Regions from separate parts of the Homo sapiens genome. Here all the other regions are linked to region 1. The links are contacts of gene promoters, found by promoter capture Hi-C in human tissues and cell types (Jung and others, 2019). All regions are on one chromosome and are shown on one strand. The core of a region is centred on a gene start or on the middle of the fragment in contact, and the rest is flanking DNA. Distances in the headings are between cores, read along the strand shown. Region 1 holds the start of AURKB (aurora kinase B). Region 2 holds the start of KCNAB3 (potassium voltage-gated channel subfamily A regulatory beta subunit 3). Region 3 has its middle 14 kb from the start of CYB5D1.

Region 1 (3,540 bases), core at 446-2,945:
TGTAATACACTTTATGATAAACCAGTAAACGTTAAGTGTTTCCTTGAGCTGCCCAGCATTCTGAGCAAGAAACTGATTCCCACTAGCTGGCCCACTTAAATCACAGGCTTATGCCTGATCCAATAACCATAATCTGGAATAAAAGGTATTGATTAGTATAAGTTAATTGGGGCTCATTTCTGGACCTGCAATGAAGTCAGTTTCCTTCTCAAATCCTCAAAACTCTAAGTGCTTTCAGAAGTGGGAATAAAGCTGGGCGCAGTGGCTCACGCCTGTAATCCAAGCACTTTGGGAGACCAAGGCGGGCGGATCACCTGAGGCCAGCCTGAGCAATGTGATGAAACCCCGTCTCTACTAAAAATACAAAAATTAGCCGGGCGTGGTCACATGCACCTATAATCCTAGGTACTCGGGAGGCTGAGACAGGAGAATCAGTTGCACCCTGGAGGAGGAGGTTGTGGTGAGCTGAGATTGTGCCATTGCACTCCAGCCTGGGCAACACAGCGAATCTTCATCTCAAAAAAAAAAAAAAAAGTGAGATTTAAATAGGTCTTCATCAACCTAGGGATTTGGGGTTGTCAGCAACAGAAACTACTACAGAAACCGACTGCATAGACTGGAGAGACAGGTGGTCCCCTAAAGGAAAAATAGAGTGTTAGAAGAAAGGAGAAGAGTGCTGGACAGTACATACTTAATAAATATCCACTGGTTATTTCATAGAAGGCCCAAAAATGTATTTATTTAACCCAGTAATGAAATCTGAGGGTTAGGAAGAGCAGAAAAGAAGGAAGTGTGGCAGGAAGGAGGAAAAATGAAAGTGGGCCCAAACAACACGGCAGCTAACAGAGATCTTGCAACGAAAGGTCTATTGGTGGAAAAACTCCTCCCAGGAATGTCAGAACTTTTAAGAACGACATAGTAATGACACAAGAATAAACACACAGGCAAATGAGCAAACAACGGAATACAAAGTCTAGAAATAGACACAAGTAAATATGCTAACATTATATATCAAGGGCAGCATTTAAATTCTGTTGGGGCAGTTTGTTTAACAAATGGTGTTGACATAACTGGCGCTCCATCGGGCAGAGAAGTTAGACCCCAGCTCATACATGCATAAGGATAAACTCCAGTTACATTAAAGATTTAATTTTTTTTATAAAAAGAAGAAGGCCGGGCACGGTGGCTCACGCCTGTAATCCCAGCATTTTGGGAAGCCGAGGCGGGTGGATCACCTGAGGACAGGAGTTCGAGACCAGATTGGCCAACACAGCGAAAACCCGTCTCTAATAAAAATACAAAAATTAGCCAGGCGTGGTGGCGGGCGCTTGTAATCCCAGCTACTCGGGTGGCTGAGGCACGAGAATCGCTTGAACCCGGGAGGCAGAGGTTGCAGCAAGCCCAGATAGCACCATTATACTCCAGCCTGAGCGACAGAGAGAGACCTGTCTCAAAAAAGGAAAAAAAAAAAGAAAAGAAAAAGCAAGATAATTCACTGGGGGAATTTGGGGAAACTTTCCTAAACTGGAAGCCAAGCGTGAGCCCTTCTCATTCCGCCTCTTCCATTGGGTTCCCATGACTTACGTCACAGGACATCGAGCCAATGGGAACTAGGCATGGGCGACGAGCTTGCCCAATGGGGCCGGGGCGGGAGATTTGAAAAGTCCTTGGCCAGGGCGCGGCGTGGCAGATTCAGTTGTTTGCGGGCGGCCGGGAGAGTAGCAGTGCCTTGGACCCCAGGTGAGCTGGCCTCCTGTCGCAGGCCTTGCGCCGGGAGTGGGCAGATGATCAGGTAGATCAGAGGGTCCGTTGGGCTGGCCTGCGCGCACGCCGCAGGGCTGGAAGGAGGTAGGGACGATAGCAGGGCGGGGGCGGTGAGACCAGCGCCCAGATTGGGGCTAGTGTGCTGACCTGCTCCCTTTTACCAGCTCGGGCTAGCGCTTCCGGCTCGATCGGTCCAACCCCTCCCTCTCTCTCTCTTTTTCTCTGCTTCTCACGGCTGTTTCCCTTCTCCGCCCAGCTCTCCTCCCCCTTTCTCTCTAAGGATGGCCCAGAAGGAGAACTCCTACCCCTGGCCCTACGGCCGACAGACGGTAAGGCCCTTCCCTCCGTCCCTGCGCCCCCATGACCCCGCATGGCGAGTTCCTGCTGGGAAACTTGAGATCCTGCAATGAGCAATCCTTTAAGCACTTTCTTCCCCGTTATGCTCCAAAGTACGGGTCCCAAGTTTGACGACAGAACCCGCTCTGGTCATTTGTAGCCACATCCTGTCAGGTGCTGCCAACGTGAATCTGACCAGCCAGTGACTCCCAGCTGGTGAGGACCTCTGCAGGGCTCGTCACATACAAATGATATCTGGGACTGAGCAGGCAGGGCCTGGCCTTCAGGCCATGATTCCCAATCCATATCCTGAAAAAAAAAAAACTAGACAGCAAATAGAAATAGACTCTAAAAGGATATAAAGTTACAGTTTAAAAGGCCCAGGGCAAGTCTAAATTACAATTTGGAATTAATGACTAAATTGAGGTAAGAATCTAAATGGATCTAAATTGACTTATTTCCCAATGGTCCAGACAGATTTCATTGAAGGGCCTCCTCTCTGATTTGAAATGCCACCTTTATTATATATATAAATTCCCACATATATGTGGGTCTATTTCTGGACTGTATTTTATTCAACTTGCTTATTTGTAGATTGGTACCAATATCACTATTTGGGGCCTAGGGGCTTTCTTCTCTTGGCTGCAGAAGAAGGAAGGGGCCCTGCACAGGCTTTGCTCCCTGTTTTTGGAGCTCTTGCTTCCTGGAGAGTCTGTCTGTTCCCTTGTACATCAGCTCCCTCCCTCATGGAGCACTGAGTGAGGCTGTCAGGAATGGAGTCTGAATGAGAAACCATTGTCACTTTTACCTTAGTCACTCCTAAAAGAAAATGTACCTATTATTTTGAGAGTTGAAAGTGAGGCCAGGTAGGTGGCTCACGCCTGTAATCCCAGCACTGGGAGGCTGAGGCAGGTGGATCACCTGAGGTCAGGAGTTCGAGACCAGCCTGGCCAACATGGTAAAACCCCGTCTCTACTAAAAATACAAAAATTAGCCAGGCATGTGCCTGTAATCCCACCTACTCAGGAGGCCGAGGCAGGAGAATTGCCTGAACCTGGGAGGTGGAGGTTGCAGTGAGCCGAGATGGCACCATTGCACTCCAGCCTGGGTAATAGAGCGAGACTCCATCTCAAAAAAAAAAAAAAATGAAGAAGTTGAAAGTGAGAAGTGGTCCAGGGCCATCAGGGTAGCTCTTAGTGTCCTTAAAGCCTGTTCTTGCAAAAGTGTAAATCCTGGTTATTGCTATAACATTCAAGGCCTCAAGCATCTTATCTAAGCCTTAATAAACTAAGCTTTTTAGGAGACTTTGAGAATACCTCTGTGCTAAACCCCTTGAATTGTGGGTGTTCATTGACGCAGCTCTCTACTGTGGTGTAAGTGAGGGGCTGGATGAATGACTGTGTTGTTATGGACAGGACTTATACAGGTTGAACAGCTTCA
Region 2 (3,439 bases), core at 267-2,766, 280 kb after region 1:
CGAGAGTGCTGGAGCTGGCAGGAGTGGGGGTGGGGAGGGTCTGAAAGTAGAGAAGTTGGTGGGGGCTAAATTGAGGGGTGACGATGGGCGATGTCTTTACTCAACCAGGCTTCTACAAAGGATATGTTTAGATAAAGAGGGAGTCGATGTTTGCGGGGATCAGAAGTGTCTCTTTGGGAGAGATTCTGCTCCCATTCTTTAACACCCTCCTCATCTCTGCAGGAAGGATGGCTTCCTGGCCTTCCAAACTAGCCGTTACAAACTCCATTACTACGAGACGCCCACTGGGATCAAAGTTGTCATGAATACTGACTTGGGCGTGGGACCCATCCGAGATGTGCTGCACCACATCTACAGTGCGGTCAGTGCCAGCCCCAGGGACCCATCCCCCAGAGCTCTTCAGAACCCCAAGACTCCCTCATCTCCCCTGCCCCAATCCTACTATATGTTTGCTCAACTCAAGAGTTTTCTCAGGGGCCCTTAGGTTCTTAACTCCCACCACCACTTTCTCCTCAGAGAGGGCTTGCCTTCCAGCCCTTATTCCTTGTGCATTCACACACCCCTGAGGTTATACAAGGTTTGGGGCTAAAAACCAGAAGTATCCAAAGCCTGGCTCTAACATCTTCCCTTTCCATAGCTGTATGTGGAGCTGGTGGTGAAGAATCCCCTGTGCCCGCTGGGCCAAACTGTGCAAAGTGAGCTCTTTCGCTCCCGACTGGACTCCTATGTTCGCTCTCTGCCCTTCTTCTCCGCCCGGGCTGGCTGAAGCAACCTACCTCAAGTCTCAGGAGAATTCATGTCTGCCTGGGGCCCTTCCGAACCTGTGCCAACTAAGGGCCCCCACTGTAAGCCCCCGCACCCCCACCCCCTGCCCAGAGCAACAGCCTAAAGGCCTGCCCTGATGCTCTCCTCCTACCAGAGTGAAGCCCACAGAGTCCCTCCACCTCCACACCAGGCCCTCTCTCCAGTTTTATCCCCTGCCTAATGCTGCGAGAAGCACAGAATAAACTTTTTGTCACTCTCTGCGGCCTGAGCGTGTTGGTTTGAGGGCCCTCTCAGTCCTGCCCCACGCATGAAGGTGGAAAGTAGGGCAGCCACACCCCCTGGAGGGCCACGAAGTGGCTTTGCGGATGGGTTTCTCAACCGTGGGAATATTGATGCTTTGAGCTGGATAATTCTTTATTGTGGGGACCGTCCTGTGCTTTGTAGGATTTTAGCATCCCTGGCCACCACCCACTAGATGCTGATAGCACAGGCATGAAATCAAAAATATCTCCAAACCTTGCCGAAAGTACGCTGGGAGATACATTCCCTCCCGATTGAGAATCACTGGGCCGGGGGAAGCCTGACAGCCCTTGGGTCCCAGAGGGTGCAGGAGCCATCCTCCCCAATTCCGCTCAGAAAATATTCAAGCTGCAGAGCCTTCAGCAGGCGGGGCTTATGCAGATGAGCGGCAGGTTTGGCTGAGAGGAGGGCGGCTCTATGCAGATGAGGAGGCGGTGCCTGCATGCTGATGAGCTGGGCCCGCTGCCGACGCGGCTGGGAGCCCAGCGGGTCCCGCAGCGGTTCGCGCTGAAGTGGCATCTCTCTCCCGCCCCGCTTCCCCCTGGGTCCTTATCCTCCGAGACCTTTACCTCATCCTCGACCTTTACCCTCATCCATTTCCCCCTCCTAATCCTTGCTCCTGTGTCCCCCGTAACTGAATATCTCCACTCCTGGCGCCCCCCACGTTTCTTCCCTCCCGCCGCAAACCTCGCGACCTCCAGCAGCCCGCCCCCGCGGGCCCGATCCTGCCTGGCGGCTCCCGCCGCAGCCTCCTCAGCCTTCCCGCTCTGCCGGGGTTCGCCCCACTACGCCCCCGGTCGTCAGCCCTCGGGCTTCCCTGCTCCCCCCTCCCGTCCCCTCGGAGCCCCCTCCCCCGCCTCGGCCAGCCAGCATGCAGGTGTCTATCGCGTGTACCGAGCAGAACCTTCGCAGCCGGAGCAGTGAGGACCGTCTGTGTGGACCCCGGCCGGGCCCCGGGGGCGGTAATGGTGGGCCGGCCGGCGGGGGGCACGGGAATCCTCCGGGGGGTGGAGGGTCTGGCCCCAAGGCCCGAGCTGCACTGGTTCCCCGACCCCCAGCGCCCGCTGGGGCCCTCCGAGAGAGCACCGGCCGAGGCACTGGCATGAAATACAGGTATGGGGGTGGCCGGGCAGCCCACCCCTTCCGCTTTCCTTTCGGGACCCCTGAGACTGCTTGAGATGGCCGCCAAGACCCCTTCAAACTTCACTAAGTAGGTCTCCCTTCTTTCCATCTCTTCTTTCTGTCTCTGGCACTCCCTCACTTTGTCCCTCTCTTGGTTTCTGTCGATACCCCTGACTACGAGAATCAAGTTTACCAAGGTTGACTGGGTCCTGTCAGACCCAGGGGATGCCCCTGAGCTTCCCTCCTTACCCCTGGGAAGGTCAGGGATGCATGGATCTCCACGCTACACGGATCTCCAGGCTATGCCTCCTCCAGTGGAGTGTCCTTGGGTCCGTGTCCTGGGGAGTGGAGGGAGGGAATCAGCTTCTCACTCTGGCCTGCTCGGGGTGCCTGACCCAGATACTGCCCCTGCCTGCCCCAAAGGCTAGGTCTTCTGCGACCTTTCTTGGGTGCAAGGGGAGTGGGGCCGGTGGGAAGGATGGACCACATTTTTCATCTCCATGCTGAGGGACAGGGTCTGGGTAGACTGAAATGTAACTGACTTTATCTCAGAGGACTGCCAGACCAGAAGCTCAGAACCTGAAGTAGGGGGTAGAGGAGGGGCTCCTGCTTGGGAGTGAGCTGAGGTCACTGATCTGACCTGCTTTGTCACCTGAGGAATCTGATCCCCTCTATATGGTGGCCCTGATTGGAAAGCTGAGCTGACACCTGGGTTGGGGGCTTTGGGAGGATGAGGGGGCTCACTGGTTCAGAGACAGTCTTCACAAGTCAATAGGAACAGAGGGAGTGGAGAGGGAGAACTAGGCTTTTCTGTCTTACTCTCCCCCCTCCCCCCAGGTCCTCAATCTGCCTTTCCTCCAGGCCCATCTGCCTAGCCTAGCCAGGGACCCCTGTCTGTCTGAATGCCTGAACTTGACTTGGTTTACCTCTTCCAACCTGCCATCTACCATTTGGCACAGCACTCTGCCTGAGGGCCTGGTCTCACAAACTCACCACAATCAAACAAAATTCCTCCCAGCCCCTCACTGCACACAACCCACAGATGACTCAAACACAGACAAGACCCCAGAAGAAGGACAAACCAGACTGCACGTCTTCAATGTGATAAGAGGGAATGGAGACTCTGGACAGTGGCTCCAGAGGAACAGTCACATATGGTTCACTTGTCCTTTTGAGAAAATTCCTAGGACCTCTGCTCTGGAGATAGCACTTGCCCAATCTTATAGGCCCACTGGGTCTAATTTCTTTGGAC
Region 3 (3,671 bases), core at 484-2,983, 340 kb after region 1:
GACTAATGGTTAGCAGCGATCCTCTAACTCAGTCCTTTATTTCCGATTCCACTTGCTCTTTCCCAGTCACATTAAAATGTGCTCAAATCTCCTTATCTTTGAAAGAAATACTCTGGACCCCTTTAGCTGCCACCTTACCGCACTGTGTCCATTCACAGCCAAGCCTCTTGAAAGCATTAACTGCCCTCAGTGTCTACTTCCCTACTCATTTTCCAGCCCTCTGCCCCCACCACAGCTGCTTTCACCAAATTACCAACAACCTCCTGGTTGCTGAAAATCAGAGGATGTTCTTAGTTCTTCACTTGACCACCCCCTTTTTGAAAAAAAGAATTTGCTTGACGTCTGTAGTTTCGCATTCCTGGTTTTTCCCTTGCCTCTCTGGCTCCTCCTTGTCAGTCCCTGTTCAAAGAGGCAGTGCTGTCTGGATTAGTGGTCAGCCATGGTACTTAAGAACCTGGGCTTGGGAGACAGGTCTGGGTTCATATGCGGCTTCCACTTCTCAGAGTTTCAGTTTCTTCAACTAAAATGGCAACATATAAGTCTTTTTGTGAAGCCCTAATATTACCAAGTCAATGGAATTACCCTTTTAAGGTCGTTAGTACTGTGTTTGACACACAGTAAGCAGGCATGCACTAAACTCCCCTGACTCTCCAAGCTTATAATAGGTGCTCCTCCTATGTGCTACCATATTATCCTTTATCTTTCTCATTAGGCTCCAGAGAGGAGGGGCCCTGTCACCCTTCTCCACTGTCGTATCAGTCTAGCACACGGCCAGGCACACATTAGGCACCCTGGAAATACCTGTTGACTGCTTCAAGTGTTTAATATATGGCAAAGGTGATACTTTAAATCAGTGGGGCAAAGGATTATTGATAAATAATGATGCATAATTGATAAATGGAAAACTATTTGTGAAAATATAAAAGGTAGATCCTTACCATTTACTAAAGTAGTTTTCAGATGGATTAAATAGTGACATTAAAAACAAAAATTGCCCGGGCACAGCGGCTCAGGCCTATAATCCCAGCACTTTGCGAGGCCGAGGTGGGCGGATCACAAGGTCAGGAGTTCAAGACCAGCCTGACCGACATGGTGAAACCCCGTCTCTATTAAAAATACAAAAATTAGCCGGGCGTGGTGGCGCATGCCTGCAATCCCAGCTACTCAGGAGGCTAAGGCAGGAGAATCACCTGAACGCGGAGGTTGCAGTGAGCCAAGATTGTGCCACTGCACTCCAGCCTGGGCAACAGAGCGACTCCGTCTCAAAAAACAAAACAAAACAAAAAATGTAATTCTGCTCAATTCAGCAAGACCAAAAAATTTTTTAGAGAACTAGAATGAGATATAAAAAGTGTGGGTGAATATTTTCCTGATCTTGGGGGTGAAAAAGGCCTTAAGCGTACAACAAGCATCAACGTGGATGCTTTAAAGGAAAACGTGGATAGATTTAACTCAATGAAACTAAATTTTACTGTGTAAGAAAACATAAAGTTAAAAGACTAGCTAGGAAAATATTTGTGCCATTAATGACAGACCATTTTATTCAGTAAATACTGTGTGCTCTAATAGAGCTCAGAGATAACAGAAACTACTCTAGCTCAGAAAGATACTTTATCCAGGAAACCAGGGCTTACAAAATTATTGGAAGGGCCAAAGAAGAACTACAGACAGGGTTTCCAGAGTGACAAGAAGATTGTAAGGACAGGCTTGGTGGCTCACGCCTGCCATCCCAGCACTTTGGGAAGCCGAGGTGGGTGGGTCACTTGAGGTCAGGAGTTCGAGACCAGCCTGGCCAACGTGGTGAAACCCCATCACTACTAAAAATACAAAAAATAGCCAGGCATCATGGTGCGTGCTTGTATTCCCAGCTACTCGGAAAGCTGAGGCAGGAGAATTGCTTGAACTCGGGAGGCGGAGGTTGCAATGAGCCAAGATTGCACCACTGCACTCCAGCCTGGGCGACAGAGTGACTCCACCTCAAAGAAAGAAGAACGTTTTAGACCTGGCCCACCAGAGATCTACTTCCTATTTCTTCAGTGATCAAGAAGCTGCTGGGGTCGGGTACTGGCTCCAGGATTACTCCAGTATTGTATTACAGCAGGAGTAAGGGGGTATAAAGGAAGATAGCGAGCTAGTGTTTGTATTCTTGATGAAATAAAGATGTCATAGAAATCAACAATAAGAAAAAGACCAATAGAAAAAAAATACAAAAGTAGTAAAGTATATGTACAAAAGATGAACAATAGGATGATGATTGCTGACTTTTATTGAGTTTTACTCTGCATCCAGGAACTAAGTACTTAATATGTACTAACTCACTCACTCCTTTCAATAACCTTATAAAGTAGAAAGTATCCTAATACTCATTTTACAGATGAGAAAACAGACAAAGGGAGGTTAAATATCTTGCTCAAGGTCAGAGCTATTGAGAGGTGGGCATTTATGCCTAAACTCATGGACCACAGTAGACCTGAAAAAAGAAAATTAGATGATGTGATGGCTCAAGAATTGGACATTGTTAATAGCAATTGAGAAAGAAGCTGGCTTTAAGAGGCCATAATGAATTTGTTTCTAGATGTGCTTAGCTCGATATGATGGTGTGGCATCTTTTTAGAAAAATAATTTCTGGTTGGGTGTGGTGGTTCACACCTGTAATCTCCACACTTTGGGAAGCTGGGGTGGGTGGATCACTTGAGCCCAGGAGTTCAAGATCAGCCTGGGCAACATAGTGAGACCCCGTTTCTACAATTTTTTTTTTTTTTTTTGAGGTGGAGTCTTGCTCTGTCGCCCCCAAGCTGGAGTGTAGTGACACGATCTCGGCTCACCGAAACCTCCACCTCCCAGGTTCAAGCAATTCTCCTGCCTCAGCCTCCCGAGTAGCTGGGATTACAGGCGTGCACCACTGCACTGGGCTAATTTTTGTGTATTTTTTTTAGTAGAGACCGGGTTTCACCATGTTGGCCAGGCTGGTCTTGAACTCCTGACCTCAGGTGATCTGCCCACCTCGGCCACCCAGAGTGCTGGGATTACAGGCGTGAGCCACCGTGCCTGGCCAAAATAAATAAATTTTAAAATAGAAGTAACTCAACTTCTGAGCTATGGAATAGTTCTCTGTACCTCCAGTACCTAATAAAGAACCCAAATACTGCAATATATCTTTTCGATTAAAAGATTTTTTGTTTTTTAATTGATTAAAAGATTTTATCTGGTCTGCTCATCCTTCTATTGCTGCCTTTTAGCTAAATCCATTTCCTTGCTCTCACTGAGTAAGGAATATCATCTTAATCAGAAGGAGGAAGATGTAAGCCTAAAATTGTTGTAATTGTTGTCTTTGCCTTCTGCAAGTTTTTTAGATCTGCTTTTAAAAATTTATTTTATTTTATTTTATTTTTAAGACAGAGTCTTCCTCTGTCACCCAGGCTGGAGTGCAGTGGCATGATCTCAGCTCACTGCAGTAACTGCCTCCCAGGCTCAAGCAATCCTCCCACCTCAGCTTCTGGAGTAGCTGGGGTTACAAGCACAGGGGCCACCATGCCCAGCTGTAGATCTTCTTCGATTGACCACTGTGATGGAAACTGAATAATCCTATACAAAATGGCAAAAACCAAACTTTTTCCCATTTGACATTGCTTTTTAACAATTTCTTAATAGTTTTCTGTTGGCTGGCCAGC

What was found. The method cuts DNA at HindIII sites, captures the fragments that hold promoters and counts their contacts. A contact is called where the count stands out against the background at its distance.
Region 2: a contact is called between the fragment with the promoter of KCNAB3 here and the fragment with the promoter of AURKB in region 1, in 1 of the 25 tissues and cell types used here (adrenal gland).
Region 3: a contact is called between a fragment that was not itself captured here and the fragment with the promoter of AURKB in region 1, in 1 of the 25 tissues and cell types used here (thymus).

What each region holds. Positions count from the first base shown.
Region 1 is chr17:8,208,730-8,212,269 of GRCh38, reverse strand. AURKB (aurora kinase B) reads left to right here and starts at 1,695. Exons shown (of 9, transcript NM_004217.4): 1 at 1,695-1,740; 2 at 2,021-2,093. The coding sequence starts at 2,046. RefSeq lists enhancers at 2,193-2,242, 1,804-2,463. The HindIII fragment of the contact is 18,109 bases long and covers 1-3,540 here.
Region 2 is chr17:7,927,933-7,931,371 of GRCh38, reverse strand. KCNAB3 (potassium voltage-gated channel subfamily A regulatory beta subunit 3) reads left to right here and starts at 1,516. Exons shown (of 14, transcript NM_004732.4): 1 at 1,516-2,178. The coding sequence starts at 1,937. TRAPPC1 (trafficking protein particle complex subunit 1) reads left to right here. Exons shown (of 4, transcript NM_021210.5): 3 at 223-361; 4 at 638-1,023. The coding sequence ends at 766. The HindIII fragment of the contact is 19,988 bases long and covers 1-3,439 here.
Region 3 is chr17:7,869,983-7,873,653 of GRCh38, reverse strand. It overlaps a transcript of NAA38 not described here. Among named protein-coding and RNA genes, the nearest start is that of CYB5D1, 14 kb to the right of the region's middle. The HindIII fragment of the contact is 4,268 bases long and covers 1-3,671 here.